Linked DNA regions of Homo sapiens: all the other regions are linked to region 2. Evidence: promoter capture Hi-C in 16 types of primary human blood cells and fetal thymus (Javierre and others, 2016). All regions are on one chromosome and are shown on one strand. Each heading gives the region's core, a stretch centred on a gene start or on the middle of the fragment in contact. The rest is flanking DNA. Distances are from core to core; before and after follow the strand shown. Region 1 overlaps SOCS6 (suppressor of cytokine signaling 6). Region 2 holds the start of RTTN (rotatin). Region 3 overlaps RTTN (rotatin).

What was found. The method cuts DNA at HindIII sites, captures the fragments that hold promoters and counts their contacts. A CHiCAGO score of 5 or more calls a contact.
Region 1: a fragment that was not itself captured here is called in contact with the fragment with the promoter of RTTN in region 2 in 3 of 17 cell types (monocytes, M0 macrophages and M1 macrophages); the score reaches 13.0 in monocytes.
Region 3: a fragment that was not itself captured here is called in contact with the fragment with the promoter of RTTN in region 2 in 1 of 17 cell types (total B cells); the score reaches 5.2 in total B cells.

Annotation. Positions count from the first base shown.
Region 1 is chr18:70,303,560-70,307,675 of GRCh38, reverse strand. All of the region lies in intron 1 of SOCS6 (suppressor of cytokine signaling 6), which reads right to left. Among named protein-coding and RNA genes, the nearest start is that of SOCS6, 17 kb to the right of the region's middle. The HindIII fragment of the contact is 1,461 bases long and covers 610-2,070 here.
Region 2 is chr18:70,203,945-70,207,717 of GRCh38, reverse strand. It overlaps RTTN (rotatin), which reads left to right and starts at 2,031. Exons shown (of 49, transcript NM_173630.4): 1 at 2,031-2,090; 2 at 2,403-2,590; 3 at 3,455-3,632. The coding sequence starts at 2,060. It overlaps LOC105372180 (a long non-coding RNA gene), which reads right to left and starts at 1,929. Exons shown (of 3, transcript XR_935599.3): 1 at 1,144-1,929; 2 at 624-689. RefSeq lists enhancers at 1,632-1,871, 1,334-1,963, 1,882-1,991, 2,202-2,331. The HindIII fragment of the contact is 5,232 bases long and covers 1-3,513 here.
Region 3 is chr18:70,123,266-70,127,081 of GRCh38, reverse strand. All of the region lies in intron 25 of RTTN (rotatin), which reads left to right. Among named protein-coding and RNA genes, the nearest start is that of RTTN, 81 kb to the left of the region's middle. The HindIII fragment of the contact is 1,992 bases long and covers 1,421-3,412 here.

The DNA.
Region 1 (4,116 bases), core at 91-2,590, 100 kb before region 2:
TATGGAAATTTAAAGGACTATATGGGAATACTATAAATCACCTTTTACCAACAAATTAGAAAACTTAAGAGAAAATGGACAAAATCCTAGAAAGACACAAATTACCAAATCTGACTCAAAAGGAAACAGAGAATCTAAATAGACCTATAACGAGTAAGGAATGAATTGATAATTAAAAACCTTCCTATAAAGAAAGGTCAGGCTCGGGTGGCTTCACTGGTAAATTCCACTAAAGATTTAAACAATTAATACAAATCTTCACAAACTCTTTCAGCTAACAGAGAAGAAAGGAACACTTCACAAGCCATTCTGTGAGGCCAGTATTACCCTGATAACAAAGGCAAAGACATCACAAGAAAACTACAAATCAATATCCATCATGAACACTGATAGAAAAATTCTTTATTATTTTTAGAGACAGGGTCTCATTCTGTTGCCCAGGCTGGAGTGCAGTGATGCAATCATGGCTCGCTGCAACCTCCATCTTCAGGCTCAAGTGATCCTCCCATCATGGCCTCCCAAATAGCTGGGACTACAGGCACGCACCAGCACACCCGGCTAATTTTTTTATTTTTTGTAAAGCTGGGGTCTCCCTATGTTGCCCAAGCTTGTCTAGAACTCCTGGGCTCAAAGAGTCCTCCTGCCTAGACCTCCCAAAGTGTTGGGATTACAGGCGTAAGCCACCATGCTTGGCCAAAACTTCTTAACAAAACATCAGCAAACTGAATTCAGCAACATATAAAAAGCATTATATACCTTGACCAAATGAGATTTATCCAGGTTGGTTTAACATCAATAACCAATTGATGCACTACAGCATACTAATAAAGATGGAAAAAAACACACATGATCATCTTAATAGTTGCAGAAAGGCATTGACAACACCTATTGATAAAAACTTTTTATAAGCTAAGAACAGAAGGAAACTTGCTCAAACTAATTAAGGGCAACTATGAAAAACCTACAGCTAACATCATACTTAATGCTGAAGGGCTGAATGCTTTGCCACTAAGACTGGGGGCAAGACAAGGACATTTGCGCTCACCCCCTCTACTCAACACTGTACTGAAGGTTTGAGCCAGTGGAACAAGAAAAAAAATGCATACAAATTGGAAAGGAAGAAATAAAACCATCTTTATTCATAATTGACACAATCTTAGTTTTTGGCTTTCTTTCTTTTTTTTTTTTTTTTTTTTTTGAGATGGAGTCTCTGTCACCAGGCTGGAGTGCAATGGCACGATCTCAGCTCACTGCAATCTCCGCCTCCCAGGTTCAAGAGATTCTCCTGCCTCAGCTCCCAGTAGCCTCCCCAGTAGCCTCCCCAGTAGCGTGCGCCACCACACCCAGCTAATTTTTTGTATTCTTAGTAGAGACAGGGTTTCACCATGTTGGCCAGGATGGTCTTGATCTCCTGACCTCGTGATCCACCCACTTCGGCTGCTTTTTTGTGACAGGATGTCACTCTGTCACCAGGCTGGGGTGCAGTGGCATGATCACAGCTCACTGCAGCCTCGACCTCCTGAGCTCAACCAATCTTCTTGCCTCAGCCTTCCAAGGAGCTTGGACTACAGATGCATGCCACCACACTTAGCTAACTTTTAATAGAGACAGGGTCTCCCTATGTTTCCCAGGCTGGTCTTAAACTCCTAGGCTCAAGCGATCCTCCAGCCTTGGCCTCCCAAAGTGCTGAGATTATAGGCATAAGCCCCCACGCCTGGCCAGCTGACAAAATCTTATACGTAGAAAAACCCAAGGAACTCACACAACACACACACACACCCCCACACACCCACCCTACAAGCCTACAAACCTAGCAACAATAAAACGACTAGCACACCAAAAGTGAATTAAGAAAACAATTCTGTTCACAAAATATAAAATGACTGAGGAATAAATTTAACACATGTAGTACAAGATTCATACAGTCAAAACTACAAAACACTGCTAAGAGAATATAGAGATTCTAAATAATTAGAGATTCCATGTTTTTGAACTGGAAGATTCAATATTATTAATATGGCAATTCTTCCAAAATTGATCTATAGATTCAAACAATCCCTATCAAAAGCTTAGTAAGCTCTTTTTTATATTAATTGATACAATATTCCTAAAATTTATATTGAAATGCAATTTTGAAAAAGAACAAAGTTACACTATCCAATTTCGAAAGTGCTTATAAAACTATAGGAATCAAGACAGTGTGCTGCTGACACAGAGACTGGCATACACATCACAGAATAAAGGAGTCTGGAAATAAATCCTTACATTTATAGTCGACTGATTTTCAAGAAACGTCCCAAGACGAGTCAATGAGGAAAGTCTTCTTGACAAATGGTGCTGGGACAAATGAATAACTAAAAACAAAAATGTAAACCCTTACTTCACACCATAGGTAAGAATTAAGTCAAAATGGGTCATATACCTAAATGTATGAACTAAAACTATAAAACTTTTTTTTTTTTCTTTTTGAGACGGCGTCTTGCTCTGTTGCTCAGGTTGGAGTGCAGTGGCGCGATCTCGGCTCACTGCAACCTCCCACCTCCCGGCTTCAAACAATTCTCCTGCGTCGGCCTCCCCAATAGCTGGGATTACAGGTGCATGCCACCATGCCCGGCAAATTTTTGTATTTTCTTAGTAGAGACTGGGTTTCACCATGTTGGCCAGACTGGTCTCGAACTCCTGACCTTCAGATCCGCCCACCTCGGCATCCCAAAGTGCTGGGATTACAGGCGTGAGCCACCGCGCTCGGCCATGAAACTATAAAACTTCTTTAAAAAAACTTTGTGACTCTAGTTTGGACAAAGAGTTCCTGGACACAATACCAAAAGCACAATATATAAGAGAAAAACTCTGCTAAGTTAAACATCATTAAAATTTAATAACTAAAATTTAAAAGTGTTTGTGTTTCAAAACAAACCATTAAAAGAAAGATAAGCCACAGGCTAGAAGAAAATATCTGTGTATCATATCTTCTAAGCCACAGGCTAGAATATCTGTGTATCGTAACTGACAAGAGATGATACCAAGATATAAATAAAACCTAATTTTTTAAATGAGCAAAAGATGTGAACAAACCTTTGACCAAAGACAACACACAAATGGCTAATAAGCACACGAAAAGGTGCTTAATAGTATTAGTCATTCAAAATGTAAATTAAAGCCACAAAAAGATACCACTGCACAACCACTATCATGACAATATCATGACAAAGGGAGGGATGCAGAGAAACCAGAAACCTTATACACTGCTGGTGGGAATGTAAGATGGGTTGGCTTTTAAGCAAAGTTTTTTTTTTCCCCGATTGCAGGAAAGCGATGATTGAAGTGTGTGGCTAAATATAGAGAACAAAAAAATTTATCACACGGCAGGTAAACTTCAGACCCCTAGAAATCATTCTGTATCAGTTCATCCAGATCATCCTGTGTCTTTTCTTTTTCTTTACTGTTGCATTGACCTTGTATCTTGACTTTTTATTCTTTTTCTAGTACCTGAGGATCAGAAGTTTCTCCATTTTATTTTAGTCAAATTTATCAGTTTACCTTTACTATCTGCCCCTTCTATTGTCTTAAAAAAATTCATCTGACATTGAGATCATATATCCTCCTGTATTTGCTGTAAAGAAGTTTTGGTTTTCATATTTAAGTCCTTGATTAAATCTAGTACGATTTATGTGTGAGGTAGGTAAAGATTTACATTTTTCCACACATACAACCAATTCACTCAACACATTTATGGAAAAATATTAACCCTCACAAGAATCAGAGATATACAAATTAAACTATTAACACTATGATTTTCCAAAAGTCAAATCAGCAAAGATTTTTCTAAATGGTTGTATTGATTGCCTGAAAGTGTCTTTTTTAAAAAATTTATTATTATTAGTTTTTTGAGAGTCTCAGTCTGTCACCCAGGCTGGAGTGCAGTAGTGCAATCTCAGCTCACAGCAACCTCTGCTTCCCGGGTTCAAGCGATTCTCCTGCCTCAGCCTCCTGTAGCTGGAAATACAAGTACATGCCACCACTCCCAGCTAATTTTTGTATTTTTAATAGACATGGGTTTCACCACGTTAGCCAGGCTGGTGTCAAACTCCTGACCTCAGATGATCCACCTGACTC
Region 2 (3,773 bases), core at 782-3,281:
CATCTCAGAAACATCATTGACAAGTTATTTCTATTATTTTTCTGTATTGTCATGTGTTTTTTGACCTTGACACTTCAAATCCGTAATTAACACCTTCCTTCCTGGATAACTACAGACACTTCTGAGTTGGTGTAACTGGTTCTGCAGTGCCCACTGTGGTATGCTATCCATCAGGACATGTGGTCTTTGGGTCAAGGAATTCAGCCACTGTTACAATCTTGGCCAGGCAGGCTTAGGCATGGGCTAGTGGAATCTTGGTTTAATATCCGTATCTCTTTCCTCCTACTTTCCAATTTCCTGCTGATGCCTCCTATCGGCGGCAACCAACTGGAAGCCAGAGGGCCAGGCAGCCTGGATAGTGCAGTCTTTTTGCCTGTTCAGGTCAGTTGATGCAGAGCTGGAAGAGCTGGGAGGAACCACTAGAAGGTGGAATGGAGAATATCCAGCATGCTAGCAGCAATCTTGCCCTTCCTCTCTTCTTCCCAGAGATAATATGGCCACCTTGAATTTTGTTCTTTTCCCGAATTTGACACACTCCGTCTGGATTCTTGCCTTTGCAAATACAGGTTTCTCCTGCAGGAATTTCCTTACCCAACTTCTTTGTGTGGCAAACTCCTACTTACTCTTTAAGATCCAACTCAAATATCATCACTCTCCTATTGACACACATGAGGAGGCAGCAAGGCACTCTAAATAGAACAAAGAAACATCAGGTCAGCTCCTCAATCTGTCACTTACTAGTTAATGTGACTTTGTGTGGGGGTACTTTTGTGATTCTAAGTTTCCTCTTTGGCAAAATAGGAATGGGAATACAGTAGGCCTTTGCTGTCCACTGGTTGCACACAGAGAATTCAACACACGGGATGGAAAATATTCGGGAAAAAACCCCACAGTTGAAAATAACAATACAACAATTAAAAAATAATATGAATAAAAGTACAGTGTAACAACTATTTACATAGCATTTACAGTGTATTAGGTATTGTAAGCAATCTAGAGATGATTTAAAGCATATAGGAGGATGTGTGTAGGTTATATGCAAATACTACACCATTTTATAAAAGAGACTTAAGCATGGGTGGATTTGGGTATCTGCGGGGGTCCTGGAACCAATTACCTAGGGATACCGAGGGCCCACTTTACCTGCCTTGACATCCCTTTCCCAGGGAACGTGAAATGATCAGACCGAGAAAATGCAAATCATTTTCCAAATGTAATTTTGTTGTTGTTCTTACCGCTGCTTATAATTAAAAAAAAAATAATTTGCTCAGCTCGATCACTGTGCACGGTGCAAAAAATCAACTTTGGTACCATTCAGCAAATCATACCCCCACGTCCCGCCTTTATTTTCCTTTTTTGCAGCCCGGTTTCTCTCTTCTGCTCACTCATACCCGCCCACCCCGCTTTTGTAGCTTGCTTGTTCATATCTGAACTTGGGTATCCAAAGACACTGCTTGACTTTGCAGGTACATTTCACAGTTAAAGAGGGTTCGTCATTTAGTAGTCGGGGATGGGGAGAACTGTCACAAAGCAAAAGTCTACATTCTAAATCGTGAAGTTCTGGGAGCTGAGAATCAGATTGGCAGGGCCAAGAACGAATCCGTCGACGAGCCGGGAGGCGGGGCTCCTGCTGGGGCCTCTGCAGCCCGCGCTGGGTTCCCGAATTCCCGCGCTGTAAGCCGGAACCCCAGGCCAGCGGGCGCCGCGGCGGGCCCGGAGATCGGTGCAGGACGCACGGCCTAGCCAGAACTACAACTCCCGACGTGCGCGGCGGCCAACGCTGGTTCTATCCCTGCTTGTTGCTTTTTTTTTTCCCTCCGCTTCTTGCGACGGAGACTGCTGTCCAGGAAGTGCGCAGTAGTGATTCTAGAGAGGCTGGAAGCTCTCCTGGCGACGCTGGGGCCGCGAAGGGCTCACGTAATGACTCCTACTCCTGGTGAGCGCAGGCGTTGCGGAACTCACCGTCCCACAGGACGTGTTTCCGGGGGTACATTAATTGTGGCTGGACGCAGTGGCGCGGCAGTTTAATTCTCCGGCGGCTGCAGATTGACGGGACGAGATGGTCCTGGCAGGGCTCATCAGGAAACTCGGTAACTGTCAGCTTGCCCCTCGCCCAAGGCACCCCCCGCGCTCTGGCCACTTGCTGAGAATGGTCGTGTCACGTTTCCGCGGCCGGCCGCTCCGCGACCGCTCCCTCTTTCACCCCCGCTTTGTCAGGATAGCCCCCGGGGACCCATCTCGGACTTTGTGTAAACTTCGCGGTTCGCGTCCCGAAGGCACCAGTGGCCTGCTTCTGAAAAAAACTGGTTTATTCCGTCTTCACGCCGCTCCTGCCCACAGCATAAATAACGTAGTCTCTTTGCAGTCGGGAAATAAAATAGTTTTGTGCCGTTCGTTGACAGGTCATCAGCTGGCCGAGATCAGGGAGCGCGCTCTCAAGAGTATTCTCTGCAAGATTGAGCACAACTTAATCTGCTACGCTGATCTCATTCAGGAGAGGCAACTTTTTCTTCATTTGCTGGAATGGTTCAATTTCCCGTCCGTTCCGATGAAGGAAGAGGTTCTGAACCTGTTAAGCAGATTGGTTAAGGTAGGGTCATTTTGAAATAAAGAAAATAATCAGACGAGTGACTTGTTTCTTAGTCATTTAATTGTAGCGTTTATTGAAAGTTAAATAATTGGGGTTAAAAGTTTTTTTAATCAACCAGAGATGTTTAATTTTAATTAATCTGGGTATATGGTTCATCTTTTATTTGTGATACTGAATCCCACATGGTCTCTGCTGTGCTCAGAAGTAACACAGAACTTCTTTTGAGTTTTGGTATGTTCTGTGTTTTTGAGTTATCTTTGGAGGTTAATATTTGTATTCTGTTTTTGTTTTCTGACATTTACATCTTAAAAACTAGATATGTCAGTATGAAAGGGAGCACTTTAAAAATAATGTTACATAACCGTGATTCATAAATACCAATGTTAAGTTGCTTGCCCATATGCTTTTAGATTGGTATTCTTATGCCTACCTCAAGAGTAGTTAGTTATCGGGGTCAGATATCAAAGTGTAAGTTTAACCTTTCAAAACTAAATCACTGTACAATGGTAGAGGAATCTTAAACTACTTTGACATCCTGTTGACCGGTTGGGGCTGGGACCATAAGGTGAGTGTCAGTGGAAAAAAGTAACCCATTAAAAAAATAAGAGTAGGGATTGATAATGTGCATTTCTAGCGTTCAGTGTGTTGGCTCATCTTTCATAAATGTTATCAAGTGTTGGATGTATGTCTCTATAGGTGTATGTGCTCCTCATGGAAGTGCCTTACTTCGGGGCAGAGCCATGAAGGATTTGTTTTTCAGAAAAGGAACATCTGATATACCAAAAATAATTTTATGTTTTGATTGCTGTAAGTTATAGAGATTTTGATACAGTTATTCTCAAGATCATCCTCTTCTTATTTTAGTATCCCCCAGCAGTCCAACATTTGGTTGACGTTGGTGCAGTAGAGTTCTTATCTAAGCTTCGGTCTAATGTGGAGCCAAATCTGCAGGCTGAAATTGATGGCATTCTGGATGGACTTTTTCTTCTTCCTTCGGAAGTTCCTGCACTATCTTCTGCCTCATACCAAACCAATCAAACTGGTAACTCTTTGGAATCTGTTAAATACAAATATATTAATTCTAATGGTAAATTTTAAGGAAAGGGAGATTAGATTTTTTTAAAAAGGATTTCTCCCACCTCCCCCAAACTTATTTTTCTTGTGTTAACTTACATGATTTTGA
Region 3 (3,816 bases), core at 1,167-3,666, 81 kb after region 2:
AATTTCATGAAGTTGATTGCCATGTGGCGGTCCTTTATAGCAGTTAATTGAGAAGGCTCTAGCTTGTCAATTTAACATGCTTAACTTGTAGCAGATGGTTGCATTTGCAACAAGACTGATAAGCAACCACTGCAAGCAGGTTTTCATTTTATTCTTCATGTGACTTTAGTATAAAATGTATAACTTTATTATTTAACATAAAATGTGCAGTTTTTAAGCTGCTAGGTTAAATGAGTTTCCAAAATATGAATTCCTTTATTAGTTTAGCTTTAAAAATTAGTTTATCTGATTAGGCTTTCCAGTGGTGTGCTGGTGCCCACTAATGCAGCCTTGTGAGAGAGCTGATGGTTGAATTTTCAGGATTTTTGTAAGGTGATTGTTAAACACAGCCATTCTTAATTATATAAACTTACAATTAAATAAATTATATGAAGACAAAAGGTAATGAATATGCAAACATCACTTTCTAATTATGTGGCAACATTTTACTGTTATCTTTGTTCTTGAGGTTATGCATACATATGCACTACAGGGGTATGTATTTTATGGAAATAACTACAATGGAGTACCACTGTGCATCTCTTCACAACTTCATGTTACATGGTAGCTCCACATTGTCTACAGTAGTATATTTACACCATGGAAATTGACAAACACAATAAGTCAGCACTCTCAGTTACATATTTATCAGCACACTCCCGCATTTAAACAGTCTCGCCAGTTGAAGAATGCATAAATCCTTCACTTTAAATAAATGTAATATGTCCCTATTTGTCAAAAGAAATTTTAACATAAAAGCTGATTGAATTCATTGCACTAAGTTTTCTTTCTCTTGTGAATTAAAACCATAGAAATAGTATGCAATACCACATTACAGGAAAGACTCTCAAACTGTGGGTCAGTGGAAGCCTTTAGAGTATTTCAAATTGCCCAATAGCAGTAACTGTATGTGAGCATCACATTTTTTATGGTTAGTTTCCTCAGGACTAGTGTAAGTGGAGAGTATAGACTGTGTATATGTTTAATATATACACACATGCATATATAATATTCATCTTGTATTTGGTTTTTAGGCCTGTGTTTGATCATGGCAACACAGACACTACTGCCTAATTTATAAATATTCATGTATTTCTGCTGTATTATGTTTCACTAAGGAATGTATCAAAAATATATATCACAGAATCCACCTTTTTTCATGAAAACTTTTTAAAAACTTTACTTCCAGCAATGTATGTACTAATGAGGCTTTGGGAAACTTTAGTTTTGCTTTCATTCAGTTTAATGATAGAAAGGAACATTATCTTTTTGACTGATTATCTAAGATGAACCAACAGCTTAAAGGGTGCTTGGAGATAGAAGATTCCCATAAATCATGGCTGTATAAAGTATTGAGATATTGAGAACATTTTTATAAGCTTAGTTTAATATTTTTAAAATACAGCTATTTCAAATTATATCATTCTAGACAAAACAAAATATAGAGAAGCATGTTCATACCTGTGTGAATGGTTTTTTATTGTATTTTAAAAATAATGTTATTTTTTACACATTTTCCATGTCAGTAAATATACTTTGAGGCTAATTTTTCAAATATATGATATATCCAAATGAATGTTCCGCAAAAGAGGTCCTTTTAGGAGTGAGTGTGTATGTTAGAATAATTCTGGCTTTGCTCAGATATTTTGAAATTGTCCTCTCAGGTCATTTAAACAGCAGATGTAAGGAAGTCTTATTATATTTTGAAGTTATATTTAATTTTTTACTAAAAAATGATATTAGCAAACTCAACTATCCAGAGAAGGGTAAAAATGATTTTTACATGTATACCGAAATGAACACCACCCTAAACCATGACTATTTATCACTATTAACAAAAGTATATTTCAGTTTGACAAAAAACATGGTTTCTAAAATCTTTTTACTTACGGTACTGTGGCTTCTAAACATAACTTTCCAAGATGATTATTTTAACAGCCCAACATTAATTTATGTGTATGTTTTTATATGTGTATGCTAACACACAAGCATACAATTATAATCTAATATCATTTTGGAAACTTATTTTAAGAAAACAGATGATAGTCATGGTTTAGTAGGATTACAAGTTGTCAGAGGTATCTAGAGTCTTCTTTCAACTAGTTTCTGTTGAGTTTGCATGTTTAATGCCTCTCTACTCCTTTCCTACTGGAAGTCCTATTGCTACTGTTTTTCTCCATTTTTCACCAGACTGTAGACTGACTAGCGAATTGGTTTTTCTGCTTTTAACCTTATGCCACTCATTTATGTTGCTTCCTGAATGATCCTTCTGAAATACATGTCACCTGTGGGTTCTCTTCCATGGTGTGCTAGATATTAATAGAATTCCAACCCCTTAGCATGCTGTAGAAAGTTCTTTTTGATCTAGCTCTTGCTTACCTTTTCAGCTACAGTTTCCTCCTCTCTCTCTAACATATGCTGTGTTTCTATGAAGTGCAAATATTGGGGTTTTATGAAACTGCTTGATATTTTAGGGCATACACTTCTGTTTTATACATCCTTGCTTTTACATAGTTAACTCCTTGGCTGCCTTGTGAATATCTACTCTTCCTTGAGCTCCAGGGTCTTCTTACTCTGTGATGTATGTGGAATTCTAGTTACCCTGATTGTCATGTGGCTTTCCTGCATTACTTCTACAGTTGTTTAAATATTTGTTTTCTCATGTGCCTTGGGTTTATTACATTCCTTTTTATATCCCTCACATATCGCATAAGTCATAGTATACAGTTGGCCATGCAGCCTCAGCGTGAACACCTCCTTTGAAGGATATTCATTCTGTTTTTGCGCTGTGATTATTCGTAAGTTTTTTGTTCTTTTAGACTGTACCTGATCATTTCTACCTGTTATTCTGTCCTTTAAACTCACAGAATAAATAATGTCTTCACATGTGACAGCTCTTCATTTAAACATAACTATAATTTCTTCTCTATTCCCCCCACCCTGCTTTAAATGATTTGTTTTTTTTTTTAGATAGACTTTAAAAGCCACAGTGTCCAGACTTCTCATTTGTTCATGCTATTTTACAAGGGTATTGTGTTTCTTAGGACTCTCCCTGAGATCTGGACATGATACCTTATATGGGTGTGGTGCTGTGGCATGGGGTGAATAGGAAGAAAGGGGCTACTGCCTTTCTTTTCCTACTGCTTTTCCATCATTCAACAAACATTTATTGATCACCTACTAGGTGTCACTCTTGTAGGAAATATAGCAGTGGGCAAAACTGATAGGGTCCTGCTCTCATGGAACTTGGAATTAAGACAGCTAAAAGTATAATCAAAAGTAGAAATGCTTCCAAGCAGACTATTAGGAAACTGCATTAGAGGAGCACCCTATCCCTCTTCAGTAGAGAGAAAGTGGTTCAGAGAATGAAGCTTAAGCCAAGGCATAACAGGTAGAAGGATGTTAAAAGTCTATGGGATTGGAAGCCGAAAAGATACCAGGCACACAGAGAAACAAATACCACATGATCTGTCTTATATATGGAATCTAAAAAAGTCGAATTCAAAGAAGTAGAGTAGAATTGTTACCAGAGGCAAGTGGCAGGTGGATATGGGTAGGGAAAAGGGAGACGTTGCTGAGAGGTTACAAAATTCCAGTTAGACAAGAGGAATGAGTTCTGGTGATCTCTTACAGCATAGTGACTATAGTTAATAATAATATATGTTTCAAAATAGCTAAAAGAATAGATGTTAAATGTTCTCACCACAGAGAAATAAGTATTTGAGGTGATTGGTATGTTAATTAGCCTGATTGGATCATTCCACAATGTATACATGT